Regions from separate parts of the Homo sapiens genome. Here regions 1, 3, 4 and 5 are each linked to region 2. The links are contacts of gene promoters, found by promoter capture Hi-C in blood cells and fetal thymus (Javierre and others, 2016). All regions are on one chromosome and are shown on one strand. The core of a region is centred on a gene start or on the middle of the fragment in contact, and the rest is flanking DNA. Distances in the headings are between cores, read along the strand shown.

Region 1 (3,564 bases), core at 1,047-3,546, 490 kb before region 2:
AACTGAATGTTTGTGTTCATCCCAAACTGATATGTGGAAACCCTAATCCCCAACGTGATAGTATTTGGAGACGTGCCTTTGGGAGGTAATTAGGTAATTAAAGCCCTCATGATGGGATTAGTACTATTTTTTTTTTTTTTGAGACAGAGTCTTACTCTGTCACCCAGGCTGGAATGCAGTGGCACGATCTCGGCTCACTGAAACCTCTGCCTCCTGGGTTCAAGCAATTCTCCTGCCTCAGCCTCCTGAGTAGCTGGATTACAGGCGCATGCCACCACACCCAGCTAATTTGTTTTGTATTTTTAGTAGAGATGGGGTTTCACCATGTTGGTCAGGCTGGTCTTGAACTCCTGACCTCATGATCTACCTGCCTCGGCCTCCCAAAGTGCTGGAATTACAGGCGTGAGCCACCACACCCAGCCGCAGGATTAGTTCACTTATAAGAAGAAACAAGACCAGGCATGGTGGCTCATGCCTGTAATCCAAGCACTTGGGGAGACTGAGACAGGAGGTTCACTTGAGCCCAGGAGTTTGAGGCCATTCTGGGCAACATAGGAAGACCTTGTCTCTATAAAAAATGAAAAGTTAGCTAGGCATGATGGCACGCATGCCTGTAGTCTCAACTATTTGGGAGGCTGAAGCGGGAGGACTAGTGGAGCCTGGGAGATGGCGACTGCAGTGAGCTGTGATTGCGCCACTGCCCTCCAGCCTGGGCAACAGAGACCGTGTCTCTAAAAATAATAATAATAATAAAATAAATAAAAATAAGAGAGAGTTTACTTTCCCTCTCTGCTTTCCGCAATGTGAGGACACAGCAGGAAGATGGCCATCTGAAAACTATGAAGATGGTCCTCCCCAGAACTTGACTCTGCTGGCATTCTGACCTCAGTCTTGACAGCTTCCAGGACGGTGAAAAATAAATCTCTGTCGTTTAAACCACCCAGTCTATGATACTCTGTTATAGCGGCCTTAACTGATTAAGACAGTATGATTCTATTTTTTTTTTTTTTTTTGAGACAGAGTCTCACTCTGTCTCCCAGGCTGGAGTGCAGTGGCACGATCTCTGCTCACCGCCACCTCCGCCCCCCGGGTTCAAGTGATTCTCCTGCCTCAGGCTCCCGAGTAGCTGGGACTACTGGCGTGCACCACCATGCCCAGCTAATTTTTGTATTTTTAATAGAGACAGGACTTCGCCATGTTGGCCAGGCTGGTCTCGAACTCCTGACCTCAAGTGATCAGCCCGCCTTGGCCTCCCAAAGTGCTGGGATTACAGGTGTGAGCCACCGCACTCAACCAGTATGATTCAATTTATATAAACTTTTTGGAGGCCAGGCACGGTGGCTCATGCCTGTAATCCCAGCACTTTGGGAGGCTGAGGTGGGTGGATCACTTGAGGTCAGGAGTTTGAGACCAACCTGGCCAACATGGCGAAACCCCATCTCTACTAAAAATACAAAAATTAGCTGGGAGTGGTGGTGCATGCCTGTAATCCCAGGTACTCGGGAGGCTGAGGCAGGAGAATCACATGAACCCGGGAGGCAGAGGTTGCAGTGAGCAAAGATCGTGCCACTGCACCCCAGCCGGGGAGACAGAGTGAGACTCTGTCTCAAAAAAAAAAAAAAAAAAAAAAAAAAAAAAGGTGTGATTTGGGTTTCTAAGGATTCCCAGTGTGTCCTCATCGGTGAGGACCTCTGATGCATGGAGAGGTAAGTGCAGTGGAGAGCATATCCACAAAACAGAGATGAGGCTATTGGGATGCTGGAGATTACGTGACAATTTATGAGTGACACACAGCCAAGAACAGAACCAGGACTGGATGCCCATTTCGTCATTCAACAAATATTTACTGAGCACCTACAATCCCTCAAAAACTGTTCTAGAGTCTAAACCGATGGGGTCGTAACCATGCCCCCAGCCCACTCCCTTGCAGGAAAGACCGTGGCTCCAGGTCCCCCACATTACTGATTAAAAAAAAACTCCAGTGCTCTGGCCATGGGCGTGAAGGCAAGGACAGAGACCGGGAGGATAATGAGGCCAAACAGCTTTGGCCCACCGCCACCGGGACTGGCAAAGAGGCCAGACCTCCTAATGCTCTTCCTTGGAGGAAGGAGCAGTGTTTGATTTGGTCAAGAGGCCAAGACTAAAAGTAAGAGGATAAACACGAGCTGGCTGGACGCGAGGCTGGCTCAGGGCAGTGCTGTCGGGCTGAGGATTCAGGGAGCTGGTGTTGTCCAAGCTTCACATTTGCGGAAACTACAACTCCCAGCGTGTCCCGCGGCCGCCCGAGCGGGCGTCATGTGATGCATGCTCACGTGTCTCCGCAGCCGGCTCGGGAAAGAATCCCCCAAGGTAGGTGGCCGGAGACAGGCTCTGGAGGGTGGAAGTGTTAGATCCCCGAGGTCTGTGGAGCCCCTCAGTCCCCGCCACCGCGGAAAAGCTCAGACCCTTTCCCTGCAGGGGTCCAGATCCTGGCGTCCTCGCCCCACGCCCGTCCCTCTGTTGCGCCAGCTCTGCCGCGCCTTTACCCAGCCAGAGGGTCTCCACCCAGTCCTAGGCCGGGATCGGGTCCCGGAGCTCCTCCCCAGGTTACCCCACAGTAGCCCACCCTTCTCGCTCCAGGCCTGGGAATCGCCCCGCCCCGGCCTCCTGGCCCGGGTGCGCCCTGGCTCACCTCACAAAGCCTCACCTCACAAAGCAGCCCACCCTTTCTATCTCAGGGCTCCAACCCCAGGCTGGACTGGGAGCACACTCCAGTTGGGATCTGAGGGGCCTACATCGCTGGCCTGAGCATGTGGGCATCAGGCTTCTATTCTGGCTCTGCCAGCTACCCACTGTGACCTTAGTCTAACCTCTCCCTCCTGGGCCTGTTTTCCTATCTGTCCTGAAGCTCCATTTCATGAGTAAGCGTGAGAGCCGCTCAGTTTCCTCCAGCTCTGCTGAAGCCAGCACAGAAGTAGCCCAAACTCTTCCCTCTGCTGACAGCAAATTTTAGGCAAAGTCTTGAGAAAGAAGAAATTGGGTCCAGAAAGGGAAGTGAGGAGAATCAGATCCCAGACCTTTGGGGAGAAGGAGCAACCGCCTCTGGCACAGCCCATCAGGGAGAAAGAGCAGGTAAGGTGCAACAATGAGCTGAGTAATTTGCCAGTGAGCAGTGGGGGTGCCGAGAGGTCTTAACCAAGGCAGAGAATCTGCAAGAGGTGGGACCCCCAGCTTCTGAGTTCCACGAGGACCCCAGCCTGCACTCTCATGTGGGTGGCAGGAGAGGCTGGAGGATGGTGCAGGACTCGGGCAGGGGTGCCCAAGGGAAACATTTTGGTTGGAGAGTCAGGAAGCCGCACCAAGCCTTGTGACCTTGGACGAATCACTCTGTAGACCTCTGTCTCTGTGACGTGAGCAGCGGGGAGGAGATGGTCACAGCTCTGGCAGTGGTCACTTTGCAGGGTTCTTTCTCTAGCTACACTGGAAGCCTGGGAGTCCCAAGACTCTGCCTTCGCTGCTCACTGCTTTGATTTTGCTGAGTTGCTGGTTGGGTGACAGGATGTGTAAGAGGATGTGTAAGCCCTG
Region 2 (3,202 bases), core at 23-2,522:
ATCATATTGAACACATGCTATCCTAATAGTGAACACCATCCTAAGTGTTTCACATGGTTTACCTTGTTTAATTCTCCTTGCAGCCCTGTGAAGTGAGCGTTATTACTGGTTTTATGCTGTAGAATCTGTGACACAGAGAGGTTGAGTAATTGCCCTAAGGTCACACAGCTTCTAAGTAGCAGTGCTGGATAGATCTGACTCCACAGACTGTGCTCTTAGCTGTGTCAAGCAGGAAGGCCCAGGGTTTCATCCAGAAAACAGAATGTGAAAAGGGACTGGAATGAAAGCAACCTGTACTGGGTGCAGAGGTGCTGTCGATAAAGGATGAGGGATGGGAAAGGAAGACAGAAGAAAGGCCTAGAAGATCAAAGGAGAAGGGTGTTCAAGGCTGCAGGCAGCACTGGAAGCCAGGCCAGCTCAGTTGACCACCTACTCTGGGCACATCCCCAACCCAGCCTGTCCCTTCAGGTCGGATTTGCAATTCTCCTGCTCTCCCTCCTCCTAAACACAAACAGGAGATTTACACTCTCAAAGTCTCTCCCCACAAATGACTTATTAATCACAAAGGGAAAAATTGTAACTTTGCAGTGGCACAACCTGGTCAATGCCAGCTTAACCAAGTGACCAAAGTGGATATTCAGGGAAGGCTCTGGAAGGGCATTTGGGGGAAGTGTAGAAAGGTTTTGTGAGGAGCACTCTGAATGACGGGGGTAGGAAGCCTTGGGGACTGAGGAGTCTACCCTAACAGGGCAGGGTCCAGAGGGGGAAGGAGGGGTATGTCTCGGGGGAAGGGAGAAGTATTGAGGTGGGGGAGGTTCTGAGGTTTGAGTGAGGCCCTGGGGAGGGACTTGACAGTTTGGGTGACAGGAGGGTCAGAATAGGGTCAGTATGGGATGTGTTGGGTGGGTAAAAGCTGGGTGAGTGCAGGGCTGGGGATAGGGTCTCCAAGGACAGTGAAAGGGTCGGGAGTCGCGGGCGAGGGCTCTAGGGCAACGGCCAGTGGAAGGGGGGGCTCCTGTGGCGTGAAGTCAAGCCAGCCCGAGGGTGAGGCGATTTGGACAGTCCGACCTGTGGCGGCGGGAGGGCGAGGGTGGCGGAGGGCGCGAGGTAGGCGGCGGGGCGTGCCGGGGCGGGGCCGGGGCGGGGCCGGCACCGCCCGGCGGGTCCCCCCGCGCTCCAGGGGGCGCTGTGAGCCTGGGCGGCCCCAGGCCGGGCGGCGGCCGCTCCCAGTGAGCGCGGCCCCTTTTCCGGGTTTCCTCCGCCTCCTCCTCCTCTCCTCCTTCTTCTCCGCTGCCGCCGCCGCTGCCCCTTTCCCGGCCGGTGGCTGCCGCTGCCGGTGCCGCCGCCGCCGCCTCCTGGGGGCCGCGAGCCGAGCGGAGACCGCCGCGGAGCGCGAGCGCCGCCCGCCCCGCCGCCCCGCCGGCCGCTCCAGGGCCGGGCCGGCTCGGCCGGCGCCCCCCGCGCCCCCAGCCCGCCCGCCCCCGCGGGCCCGGCCTGGCGCGGCCGCCCGCCGCCGCGCTCCTCCTCCTCCTCCTCCAGCGCCCGGCGGCCCGCTGCCTCCTCCGCCCGACGCCCCGCGTCCCCCGCCGCGCCGCCGCCGCCACCCTCTGCGCCCCGCGCCGCCCCCCGGTCCCGCCCGCCATGCCCGGCCCGGCCGCGGGCAGCAGGGCCCGGGTCTACGCCGAGGTGAACAGTCTGAGGAGCCGCGAGTACTGGGACTACGAGGCTCACGTCCCGAGCTGGGGGTAAAGCCGTCGCCGCCCCCCGCCGGGCCCGCTGATCCCTGCCCCCGCCCGGCCACCCCCTGCGAACCGCACTCGGGCCCGGTGGTGTCTCCCGCCGACCCCTCCGCGGGCCCGCAGGGAGGCAGAGGTCCCGCTCTCGCACATGTCCTCGTCTTCCTCTTCCCTCCCCTTTACCCCCGTTTCGTCCCTTTCTCCCCGCTTTGCGCACCCCTTTCCCCCAAGGAATGCTTTTTTACTCGGGGAGAAGTGTGGGGTCCAGGGATCGACGCCGGGTGGAAGTGAGGGAGCTGCCCTTCCTCACACTTCTGGGTTTCCACTGGGGTGGGAAGTCAACAGCTGTCCTTTGGAGCTATTAAAATGCCCTGCCTTTTAGGTTTTCTGAGATGAGGTGGTGGGAGGAAATTTCTTAAAGACGTCCAGATTTTTAAAACAGGCATTGTCTACCTTGAAGATGTGAAACGAGAAGCAGGTGCTGGGGAGCCGCGGGGCACAGGGGGCACCCTCTAGGCCTTCAGGACGGGTGCTTTGCTCGCCCCTCTGGATTGGCTCAGAGCGTTGCCTTCCTGCCCCATCTTCCCAAGTTAGGAGAGACCAATTAGGTTAGGAGCTCTGCAGAGTGAAGGGAGCCAAGATTATGTCGTGGCTTTCATTTAGGGAATGAGTTGTGACGTGATGTATAGACACTTCCAAGTGTTTGCCTGGTGGAAGCGGCTGAATGACGTGTACAGTGGGCATAGGCTTGGTTAACCCCCAGTCCTGGCATTTATGTGTGTGTCTTCCTTTTACAGTAATCAAGATGATTACCAACTGGTTCGAAAACTTGGTCGGGGAAAATATAGTGAAGTATTTGAGGCCATTAATATCACCAACAATGAGAGAGTGGTTGTAAAAATCCTGAAGGTGAGTGTCCTATGAGTGGTATGTAACATTTTCCTCCCCACAGGGCAAAAGTTTGTAAGGTACCCCAGTCACATTCTATAATGGGCAATGCAAGCTTGAATTTAATTTAATTTATTTGTTTAGAGTCAGAGTCTCACTCTGTCACCCAGGCTGGAGTGCAGATCATAGTTCACTGCAGCCTTCAACTCCTGGGCTCCAGTGATCCATCTCAGCCTCCCAAGTAGCTGGGACTACAGGTGCATGCCACCACGCCCAGCTATTTTTAAAATTTTTTTGTAGAGTCAGGGTCTGGTCATGTTGCCCAGGCTGGTCTTAAGCTCCTGAGCTCAAGCAGTCCTCCAAAAGGACTCCTTGCAGGCCTCCTATAGTTGCTGGGATTAGAGGCGTGAGCCACTGTGCCCAGCCGACGCTCAAATTTTATTTATCTGATGTCCCTTCATTACTTCTTTTTCCACCCCATTTTCCCATGAACTTTCAAGAAAATGTGCAGACATCACAAATCTAAGTTCAGTAAAGTGTTTGTTCTAAAATGTAAATTCCCTAAAGCAAAAATTCCA
Region 3 (3,484 bases), core at 891-3,390, 320 kb before region 2:
TAAAAAATACAAAAATTAGCCGGGCATGGTGGCAGGAGCCTGTAATTCCAACTACTCGGGAGGCTGAGGCAGGGAGAATTGCTTGAACCCAGGAGGCGGCAGTTGCAGTGAGCCGAGATCACGCCACTGCACTCCAGCCTGGGCGACACAGTGAGACTCCGCCTCGGGGGGGAAAAAATGGAACTTTCGCAGATCAAAGTGGGAAAGGAAAATGGAGGCAAGGATTAAGAAATAACCATACTTACTAATTTCTGATCCTATAAATGTGCCATCTTTTCAGGCTACTTTTTATATAGAATAGAGCTGGTATAAACACAGCTTTATATCAGTTCTAGGATCGTCTTAGACCTTTGGCCTGTGAATGTCCTCATCCCTCCAAAACACGGAGACTATCACTGTTCCAGGCTGCTATCCACAGAGCCACACACAGTCTGGGCTCACTGATGTGATCAGCCAGAAAGGAATGAAACATGGCTATGCAGACCACTCAATGTCTAGCACTAAATAAATGATGGTAGTATAGTTTATCAGAGGATTAACCACAACTTACTTTGAGGACTTTAAAATGTTTCGCATTCAAATGATTCTACAGTAATATGCATACTAAAAGGACATACAGGAGGAGCTGATTTCACCTACTCATTTTGTAGCACTAGTAAGAGAATGGAGCCTAAGACACAATGGCTTGAATCATGCTCAATCAGTGCACCAAGAGAAACTCCACTCACCGCAGAGTATTCTAGATTGGCGTTGTGATTGGCTAAGTGGTTTAGTATGTCTGCAGCAGGCACCATCACGGGGGAGTTGGGCTCCTTTTCATCCTCTTCTTCCTCCAGTGGTTCCTGAAAGCTGCCATTGACAGAACCTGGCTAAGGCCCTGTCTTGGGTGAGGGACTGGGGGTGGATTTCACTGTTTTTCCACTTTTGTCCCTCTATAGAGTTGTAAAGAAAAGGGTTCCGTCCTCAGAGGCCCCACCCACTGACCTATAGGCCATCACAAGGGCCACCAGCTGGTGGTAGAGTTCTAGGGAGCGAACCCTGAGGCTGAAGAGATCGGGGTGGGCTTCCATGAAGGGCAGCACGATGGACTGGTACTCGCTGCGGATGTTGGCCAAATCCTTCTCCACGGCCTCAGGTACGCCTGTGCCCTGGAGCAGGCACCGGCGCTCCTCCTCTGGCCTGCAGGGACACCCACACCCAGGTTCCCTTCATTCCTTCACACACTTTACTGGGTAGGACTGGTGCAGGGGCGGGGAAACTTCTTGCAGCAGGCTACGGTGCAGGCGCTCCCCAACCCCTCCCAAGGCTCTCACCAGAACATCGGGTGCTCCAAGCGGCCCAGCTCGGGCCAGAGCGCAAAGTAGGGCCTCCAGCGTGAGGCCGGGGCCTGCAGCTCGTGGAGCAGCGCCAGCAGCAGTGGCACCCAGCCCGACTGGCTCTGCAGCGCAACTCGCTCTGAGGAAGACACAGGTGTGAGCGCCCCGGCGCGGCCTCGCGGGCCGGGCCCGCCCCGCCCCGCCCCGCCCCGCCCCAGGGCCCTAGCCCGCCGCCGTGCCCACCTCGCTCCAGCAGGCCGCCGATGGAGCAGGTGTGCTGCGACAGGAGCGCGGCCCGCGGCACCACGAACAACAGCTCTCCGGCCTGCACGCTCTCCCGGGCCACCATGCCGTAGCCGGCCACCGTGCCCTGCCGGCTGACCGCCACCTGAGCAGGAGGGCTGGTCAGGGCAGCCCGCGCCCCGCCGCGGGTCCTCCGCCCGCCGGCTCGCTCGCTCACCTTGGGACTCAGCTCCAGCCCCACCCGCCGGCACCAGCTCAGGAAGCAGGCCACAGGATCCAGGTCGCCGCCGTCCACGGGCCCCGCCACCTGAGATAAGTGCGCGCAGTGACCAGGTCCGACCCCCAGAGAGGCCGCTGGGAACTGCAGGAGACCGCGGCGCGAGCGCAGAACGGGCTTTGGGTGGAGGAGGGGACGAGCGGAGAGGGGCGCGGGACCCGCGGGAGGGAGCGGAGGGGGCGCAGGCGGACGGTTCTGCGAACGGAGAAGGGGTGAGGCGCGGAGGAAAAGGCTGGACCCCGCGCCCGCCACTCACCCGTGGACGCTTCGCCTGGGTCGCCATGGTCTAAGAGCGCGTTTCCTCGCGGGCCGGCGCACCGCGCGGTCACTTCCGGCGTCTCTGGCCCCGCCCCGGCGCCGGAACCACGTGGTGCCTGTTTTGTCGTCCACGCTGCAGACTGGCCGGAGTTACCGCGGGCTGGAATCGTTCCTCATGAAAACATCTTGAGTCCAGGATCTCCAATTGCACTCACGCGCTGCGAGTGCAGAAGGAGAGTCCCGTGCCGCTTGGCGCCTGGTTCTGAGCCAGGTACAGCCCTGGCCTTCGGTCTGTCCCCGAGGGCTGAGGCTTCTTGCGGTCTGGGTGCAAGAACAAAATACGGTTTCTGGATCGGAAGCCGAGGGTCTGGTGGCCGGCCGGTGGTGAGCGACGCAACTGGGCGGCGAGCGACCTCCTGATCTCGACCCCTTGTTGCCGATGGCCATGGAACCCTTTTACTGGTGGTATTCGTTCAGAGCAGTTTTCGTGTGTGTTTCAGAGTGGCGTGGCCTAGAGGGCTCCTGGATCTAGAATAGATCCTCTCTGCCCTTATTTGCCAGTACATCCTCGTTTTTAATCTGCTGCATAGCACGTGGTGGGTTTTATTAGCTGACATAGTAGGGACTCAATATCTACCTATTGGGTAAATAAATGAATAAAACAAATGGTGGTTAAACCTGGGGAAGTAGCATGCTGTTAAATGTAAGAAAATGAGGCTGTGAATATAGAGGTTACAGGAATGGGTTTTGAAGCCAAGCAACGCCGCAGCTCAACACTCAGTTTTTTTTTTTTTTCCTTTTTTTTTTTTTTTTTTTTGGCGCGTTGGGGAGACGGGAGTCTCGCCCAGGCTGGAGTGCAGTGGTGCGATCTCGGCTCACTGCAACCTCCACCTCCCGGGTTCAAGCAATTCCCCTGCCTCAGCCTCCCAAGTAGCTGGGACTACAGGCGTACGCTGCCATGCCCAGCTAATTTTTTGTGTTTATTTTTAGTAGAGTCGGGGTTTCACCGCGTTGCCCAGGCTGGTCTCGAACTCCTGAGCTCAGGCAATCCCCCCGCCTCGGCCTCCCAGAGTGCTAGGATTACAGGCGTGAGCCACCGCGCGCGGCCTGGTCTGTTACTCAGGCAAATCCTTTTTCCTGAACCTTAGTCTCCTCACCTGCGAAACTAAGATAATACCTACTCTGTAGAATTAATGTAAGGATTGGTATGTTGACTAAAGAAAAAATATTAAGCTTTTAAATAATTAAAATTAGTTTTATTTAGAAGCCTTATTGAGGACTATAGACTGAGGCCTGTAGCCCAGGAGTAATCTTGTGAGGCTCCTCTAACACGGTATTTTAGTTTAGGTTATACATAGGTGAAGATTTAGTATGTGTAAAATCATATCAA
Region 4 (3,224 bases), core at 594-3,093, 460 kb after region 2:
CTTCAGCTCCCCCTTTGGTGTCCACCATGAGCTGCAGGACCAGCAGACAGGGCAGGGCATGGGCCTGAGACGGAAATCACTGTTTCTCAACTTTCATCATGCCTGTCTTTCCTACCTTTAGACTTCACGATTTTCTTCCTGTTTCTGCATATCACCTGGTAATATTGACTAGTTATACGCAATTTTTAAAATTGACTTGCTATTTTTATTAGCTTGGGCTTAAGCAATGTCCATGAAATTACAAGTTTGATATACTCATGATACTCTTTCTATGATACAAAAAGAAAAACAATTATTGAAATAAAAAAAATTGACCCATGCACTGCCTACACACCTCTCAGCTGCTGCTTGTGTGTACATACAAACCCTGCTTTGGAGAACACACTTTAAGAACAACCGAAGTCACCTCTAGACAAGCTGCCCCCAGGTAAGCCTGCACAGGGCTTCGGCTCAGATTCACAATCACGGATCAGGTTCTGGTCTGAGGTCTGTGATCTGCTATTGCGTGGCCTTGGCTACTAGGTCACTTGTCCTCTGAGGGCCTGGCTCCTCGTCTGGAAAGTGGGGATGCCCGTGGTGTCTGCTCACACCTGATGCTGAGGACTCCCTCAGAGCGCGCCTACGTGCTGCTTAGTAGCAGGCGAGGGCTCCGTGACATTGGGCAGGCTCGGGGCTAGTCACCATGAGAGAGTGGGCATGGGGGCCTGGGCGGGCACCAGAGGGTGGGCTTCATGAGGAGGGGGCAGGAGGCAACAGACTGAGCAGCTGGGGTGGGGGTGAGGGCTGACCACACAGAGGAGGAGCCTGTGCAGACAGCCCAAGGCCCTGGCCTGGTCCGTGGAGATGGCAGACAGGAGCCTCGGAGGACTCCGCAGGGAGCAAAGCACAGGCAGGGAACCAAGAGGCGGCCCGGGCCTCAGAACCCATCCCTGCATGAGCTCCTCCTGGAAAGAAGGGAGAAAAAAGACAGTTCTCCCCACACAGGCCAGGGGAAAACCCCAAGGTGCTGACGCCCCGAGGCACCCGGAAGGCCAGCGTGGGTGACGCCAAGGAAAAGGGTGTTGGAGCCACGGCGCTCCACAGAGGCCCCTCCTGCACCCCAGCTCCGACTCCACCCTGCCTGGGTGTCTCTGCTGCGGGCTTCAGACCACAAGGAGGTTGGGAAACTGGGCCCAGGGAAGCTGCTTGCCAGAAACCTGGGCTCCAAGGGGCCACCAGGAATACCCAGGGGACAAGTCGCAGGCTGAATCTCACTGATGACACCCTGCCTCCTGGGCCGGTCGGGGCAGAGCCAGCACAGGCAGCAGCGCCAGCAAGGGCGAGGGTTCCCTGTGGGCCCAAACCTGGGCCAGGGCGCTGGGAGTTCGCCATGGGGATCCCAGGGAGCTGGGCCCCACTTTAGTCCCGTCTCGATGAGAGCCTTCTGTCCTCTGGACACTGTCGGGACAGAAACCTGAGGAATTCCAGCCACAGACGTGTCTGTTCAAGGTTTCCACCTGACCCAGAAAGAGGGCAAAGCACCTTCTCCCTGGCATTCCGTGCCCGAGCCTGGTGTCCTCTCCGTGGAGGCACTGCTCGCTCCCCCTGGCCTACCTGGAGGGCTCTGTCTGTCCCCTGGCCCTCACTCCTCCCAGGGAAAGTGTCTGGCTGGGCCCCACCTCACTGGGCCTCAGGACTGCTGCCCCTGGAGTCAGGGGCATTCATTCATAATATCAGTATTTCCTGGGTGCCTGTTCTAGGCCTTGCACGAAATATGCCCCAGTATAATCAGATGGTGGTGGGGGCGGGACACTGAGCTGGCAAAACCGCAGACTTTGGAGTGAGAAAGATTTAGAAGTTGGGCCCTTCTGGAGGAGCCCACATCACTCCCCTCTAAGCAGCCTGACCAGGGACTGACTGGAGCCCACAGAGGGAGGGCAGAGGGGCAGGGACACAGCACAGGCACCTGCAAAGGAGGCACGGGGCACCACCCCAAGAGCTCCTCCTTCATCCTGGCTTGTTGGACAGCAACCAACAGCCCAGGCCGAATACTTGATTTTCATACCAAAAATAAAAAATAAAAATCCTCAGTGTCTACTGGCAGGCCAAGCTCTGGGAGTACAACCTGGGCCCCACATCCAGCCAAAGCTGGGGAACATGGTGCGGCGTGGCCAGAGGGGCTGAGGATCAGCATCCCAAATGCAAGATACAAAGTACTAGGTTTCAACGACCTCATGTGGGCCACGCACCTCTGATCCTCACCAGACCCTGGAGCCACAAGGAGCCAGAGGTCACGTGGCCCTGGGCTCTTCAGAGTTGATTCCCACGGACACCACCGTGCACATGAAATCAGCAGCAGCAGCAGATGCCCAATACGCCTGATCTCATTACCTCCTGCTCGCACACACTGATGGCTTGGCCTTGCCTTTATGATAAAGCACGGCAGCCTCAGGAGGGCTGGGGTCCTGAGAACTCAGTAGGTCCGTGCGGCCCCACATTCCTCCTGCTGCTGTGCCACTGCCCATGGCCTCCCTTGAGTCCTTCCAATACACTGAGCCTCCTGCCTCAGGGCCTTTGCACTTGCTGTTCATGCAGCCTGCAGCATTCCCACCCCACCCCTACCCCTACCCCCCAGCTAACTGATTCAAAGCACAGGCACCAGCTTGCAACTAGAGGAGACACAGAGGGATACGGTTATCCAGTTCCTGCCTGTTGCTCTCCCCAGGCTCTGAGCTCCCGCTGTACAGAGACCTTGACTACTTTGTCCCCCAGTGGCTCCCCAGTGCCTAGCTCTGGGGAAAGGCCAGCTGTCGAAGGGATGAATACGTAATCCCAATAATTACAAAGCCACTCTGACCAAAGTGTGCCTTCCTTGGGGAACCATAACAGGGTTCTCCCAGAGCCCTAGAGTTTTGGGGAACAACATGAAAATGGCCCAAACCTCTCACTTTACAAACAAGGAAACAGAGGCCCTGCAAAGAGCTTTGCCCAGAGTCTTATGGTTAAATTCATGGTTAAAAAGTGTGGAGTCTTGGCCAGGCATGGTGGCTCATGCCTGTCATCCCAGCACTTTGGGAGGCTGAGGCACGTGGATCACCTGAGGTCAGGGGTTCGAGACGAGTCTGGCCAACATGGTGAAACCCCGTCTCTACTAAAAATACAAAAATTAGCCGGGTGTGGTGGCGGGTGCCTGTGATCCCAGCTACTCGGGAGGCTGAGGCACGAGAATCGCATGAACCCGGGAA
Region 5 (3,277 bases), core at 555-3,054, 440 kb after region 2:
CGGTGGGCAAGTGGACAAGAGGCTGATGATCTCATGCCCCTGCAGGGAAGTCGCGGCCACTGCCTGTGTGACGGATGTGACCCCGCTGGGCCTGAAGCTGGGCCCTCACTGGCCTGTCCCTGCTGCAGCGCCAGGACCCCCGGAGGTAGAGGCGAGAGTGGAGGCTCTTCTTCTGCCCCGTCTCCCCTCAAAGATGAGAAACATGTTCAGAAGGAAACGGTGTCTCTCGGCTGTGGCTCTGAGTGCAAATTGCATGGGCGGAAAGGCGGGGGTGGCTGCTCTTCCTGGCAGGCCTGGGCCATCAGCGAACTGGGCCCCGTGAGGAGGGCGGGAGTGTGGAGGAGGGTGGGCCTCTCACCCAGGCTTTCTCGGCCCCTCTCCTCAGCTTGCAGAGCTGGCCAGCCCCCTCCTTAGGGGGTGGGCGAGGAGCCTCTGGGCAGACCCAAGAACCATGGGGACTGGGGTGGGTTGGTGGCACCAATGGCAGCCCTCCCCGCCCCTCTCCTTCAAGGAGGGTTCCCGCAGCTGGGGGGTGTGCGGAGGCGCATGGCCTCCCGCCACGGGGCCGTGCTGTGTTTATGGCTGGCAGAGGCAGCCAGCGGGTGGGGGATTCTGCTGCTCGCTCACCTGCCTGGCTCGCTGGTCTCTCGAATTTTCTTCCCTCTGAAATCCTATTTAAGAACTTTTGGAAGCTTAGCCATTTTTACTTATTAAAATAAAAGAAGCCTTTTTACACAAGTATGGTCTGAAAAAGTTGGTCTGTGAGCCCCTCTTGGTCTGATTAGGGGGACGGGGCACTGGCAGGTCTTGTGGACTCCCCCGCTGGCTGGTCACCCCACAGCCCTCTGGGATCTGTCCTCTAGGTCAGTTAGGGACATGCGTCCTTAACAAACAACTGGGGGGAGCCTGCGCTGTCCCACCCTGGGTCACTTTCTCTGTTGTTTGTGGTCACAGTCGCCTCATGCGGTACCTACCATGTGCCCACGATAACTGACCTCCCAACAGGGGCATTCCTCCATGTTACTGATGGGAAGGAAACTAAGGCTGGAGAGAGCTTCAAAGGCTATCAAAGCCTTGCCCAAACCATGCTGGGCTTCCAGGTTACTGCTGGGCACCACCCACTGCCCACTCTTTGCCCTGGCCTTTTCCCTCTTCAGTGAACTGGCCAGAGGTCCACGCCACCTTCCTCCAGTGCCGAGGACCCTGACCACCCCGGGGCGGGGCTGTACCTGGTCCCTGCCTTGGGAGCAGGAGGGGGCCCACCTGTCGCAGTGCCCACGGAGCAGGGAGCCCTTTCCCGCCAGCCAGTGCTGGGGACTCCAGCAGGGAGTGACAGCTGATCGGAGCCCTGCTCAGAGGAAGGGGCAGGTGCCCTTCTAGTCCTGCCCCTGGAGGCATCCTGGGGGTGTCCATAAGACAGCTTGAGTGTAGCTGAGGTGGGGAGGAACGGGCTGGTGGGGGCCACCCCTAACCTCAACACCCAGTGGTGGAAGGGTGGTTGCCGCCTCCCCTTCCTTCCCAGTCTGCACTGGCTGAACTGGTGCTGTCCCAGAGGCCTGATTCTCTGCTGCCCCCTGCTGGCCACATGGCCCAGAGCCCCACCCCCGGGCTTGGAGGGGGTGTGGCCTCATCTCAAACCATGGGGCAGGCACTCCTGGGCCCGGGGAGCCCTGTGGCCAGCAGAAAACATTCCCCACAAGGAAACCTGGGAATAGTTACAAATTTAATAAAATTTGCCTTATAAATTACAGCAGCAGCCCCAGGGCTCAGTTCGCTGCCCCAAGAAGCAACAGTTGGGCAAAGCTGGGCAGCTATTGCTGGAGAGAGTTGTCTCAAGAGTTCAGGGCTGTAGAGGTGGCCAGGGACCAGCATCACCTCCTCCAGGACGGCCACAGGACAGCAGCAGGGGCCAGGCAGAGGCTCATGGGCCAGTGGGTGCACAAGGAACAGGAGTGGGGGCTGAGGCCAGGCCCTGTGGGCTGCCGAGCGCCCCTGCCCACTGCTTTCCTCAGTCCAGACTGGCCATGAGCAGGTGCAGCTCGCGGAAGGTACTGCCATGGCGGCCGCTCAGGCCTGACTTGCTCTTGACCAGGCCGCTGATGCTCTTAAGCTGCTTGTAGCAGAGCCGGCACTTATGCAGCCTGTAGAGAGGGCAGTGCCTGAGGGGCTAGCTGGCACCACCACCACCCACACCCAACCCCAGGGCCTTTGCTGTCCTAACTGCTCCAGCCCTTCCTCCCAAGGGAAGGCGGAGGCCCAGAGGGGAACCACCCAGGCCCTGCCAGGGATTGTGGGCACAGCCAGGCCATGGAGGAACCCAGCTCTGGCTAAGCCCACCCACACCCTGAGCCATGGCCCCAGACCAACGCCTCCTCTGTACTCTGTCCCAGCAGGACTGTCAGTAAGAGGGGCCCAGGCCTCCAGGCCTTTGTCCCCTCACCTGTTGTGGCACCCCTGCCCCCAACACATGCGCTGCCCTCACCTCTCCTCCCTGCTGATATCCACACCCACAGAGGGTGGGGCCGCCAGCATGTCTGTGATGAGGGGCAGAAACCGCTGCAGGATCAGCTTCAGGGAGGTGCAGCCCGTCTGGACGTAGCTTTAGGGGGAGATGGATGAAGTCACAGATGGACCAAGGGCCACAGACAGAAAGAGAAACAGCAAGGAACAAAGGAGGAGAGGGGCAGAAACAGACACAGACACACCCACACATACACCCACACACGCCTGTTTCCACTCCCACCTCCGGACTGTTGAGGGGCAGCAATGCTTCACAGCCAGCTCACAGGAACACCCAGGCTCTTGGGGGTCCTTCCCATGGTTCTGGAGGAGGCTTCTTACCTCTCCCCTCCCCCTGCTTCAGGCAGGCATGGCTTCCCCACACGCACCTCTCATACTTGCTCTGCAGAAGCTTCTCAATCTGTGGCAGGACGGTGGTGCACAGGTCCAGCTTCCACAGGGAGCTAGGAGAGGCCAGGACATGCTGCCATCAGCCCAGCCCTGCCCCTCCGCCCACTCCCCCTCTGCAGCCACTTACGCTTTCTGGTTGACGATGTTCAGGAGGTCCACCACCACCGACAGGTCGTTGATGGCCACAGCGGAGTCCACCGACGTCTGTGCAAACAGAGCACCGTCAGGGGTGGGGCAGTGGGGGACAGTGTGGCCCTGTGAGGGTGAGGGTGGGGGTACGAACGTGAATGTGGGTGTGCTGATGGGGCTGTGGGTATTCAGCACTGCACCTAACGCAATGAGTGTAAGGCCAGGCATGTAAACAGAT

The links. Contacts are between HindIII fragments. The CHiCAGO score rates a contact against its expected background, and 5 or more counts as called.
Region 1: the fragment with the promoter of SLC38A7 here is called in contact with the fragment with the promoter of CSNK2A2 in region 2 in 16 of 17 cell types (activated CD4 T cells, total B cells, naive B cells and 13 more); the score reaches 16.9 in activated CD4 T cells.
Region 3: the fragment with the promoter of SETD6 here is called in contact with the fragment with the promoter of CSNK2A2 in region 2 in 13 of 17 cell types (activated CD4 T cells, M0 macrophages, M1 macrophages and 10 more); the score reaches 8.4 in activated CD4 T cells.
Region 4: a contact is called between a fragment that was not itself captured here and the fragment with the promoter of CSNK2A2 in region 2, in 4 of 17 cell types (activated CD4 T cells, naive CD8 T cells, fetal thymus and 1 more). The highest score is 6.2, in activated CD4 T cells.
Region 5: a fragment that was not itself captured here is called in contact with the fragment with the promoter of CSNK2A2 in region 2 in 3 of 17 cell types (activated CD4 T cells, naive CD4 T cells and fetal thymus); the score reaches 5.4 in activated CD4 T cells.

What each region holds. Positions count from the first base shown.
Region 1 is chr16:58,683,502-58,687,065 of GRCh38, reverse strand. It overlaps SLC38A7 (solute carrier family 38 member 7), which reads left to right and starts at 2,296. Exons shown (of 12, transcript NM_018231.3): 1 at 2,296-2,349; 2 at 2,888-3,111. RefSeq lists enhancers at 2,510-2,569, 2,080-2,924. The HindIII fragment of the contact is 5,837 bases long and covers 2,239-3,564 here.
Region 2 is chr16:58,196,176-58,199,377 of GRCh38, reverse strand. It overlaps CSNK2A2 (casein kinase 2 alpha 2), which reads left to right and starts at 1,272. Exons shown (of 12, transcript NM_001896.4): 1 at 1,272-1,745; 2 at 2,534-2,645. The coding sequence starts at 1,642. RefSeq lists silencers at 919-1,048, 1,099-1,368, 1,769-1,838. The HindIII fragment of the contact is 2,827 bases long and covers 1-2,741 here.
Region 3 is chr16:58,514,173-58,517,656 of GRCh38, reverse strand. It overlaps SETD6 (SET domain containing 6, protein lysine methyltransferase), which reads right to left and starts at 2,140. Exons shown (of 8, transcript NM_001160305.4): 1 at 2,093-2,140; 2 at 1,560-1,866; 3 at 1,314-1,455; 4 at 985-1,179; 5 at 729-849. The coding sequence starts at 2,119. It also overlaps a transcript of NDRG4 not described here. RefSeq lists enhancers at 267-436, 1,086-1,255, 2,296-2,465 and a silencer at 1,516-2,175. The HindIII fragment of the contact is 14,988 bases long and covers 1-3,329 here.
Region 4 is chr16:57,738,344-57,741,567 of GRCh38, reverse strand. The region is part of intron 2 of KATNB1 (katanin regulatory subunit B1); the gene reads right to left. Among named protein-coding and RNA genes, the nearest start is that of KATNB1, 4.2 kb to the right of the region's middle. The HindIII fragment of the contact is 6,249 bases long and covers 1-3,224 here.
Region 5 is chr16:57,755,678-57,758,954 of GRCh38, reverse strand. KATNB1 (katanin regulatory subunit B1) reads right to left here. Exons shown (of 20, transcript NM_005886.3): 17 at 3,038-3,114; 18 at 2,889-2,963; 19 at 2,483-2,599; 20 at 1,711-2,141. The coding sequence ends at 2,009. KIFC3 (kinesin family member C3) reads left to right here. Exons shown (of 20, transcript NM_001130100.2): 20 at 46-738. Among named protein-coding and RNA genes, the nearest start is that of MIR6772, 15 kb to the left of the region's middle. RefSeq lists a silencer at 1,496-1,645 and enhancers at 1,444-1,738, 1,327-1,966. The HindIII fragment of the contact is 2,219 bases long and covers 695-2,913 here.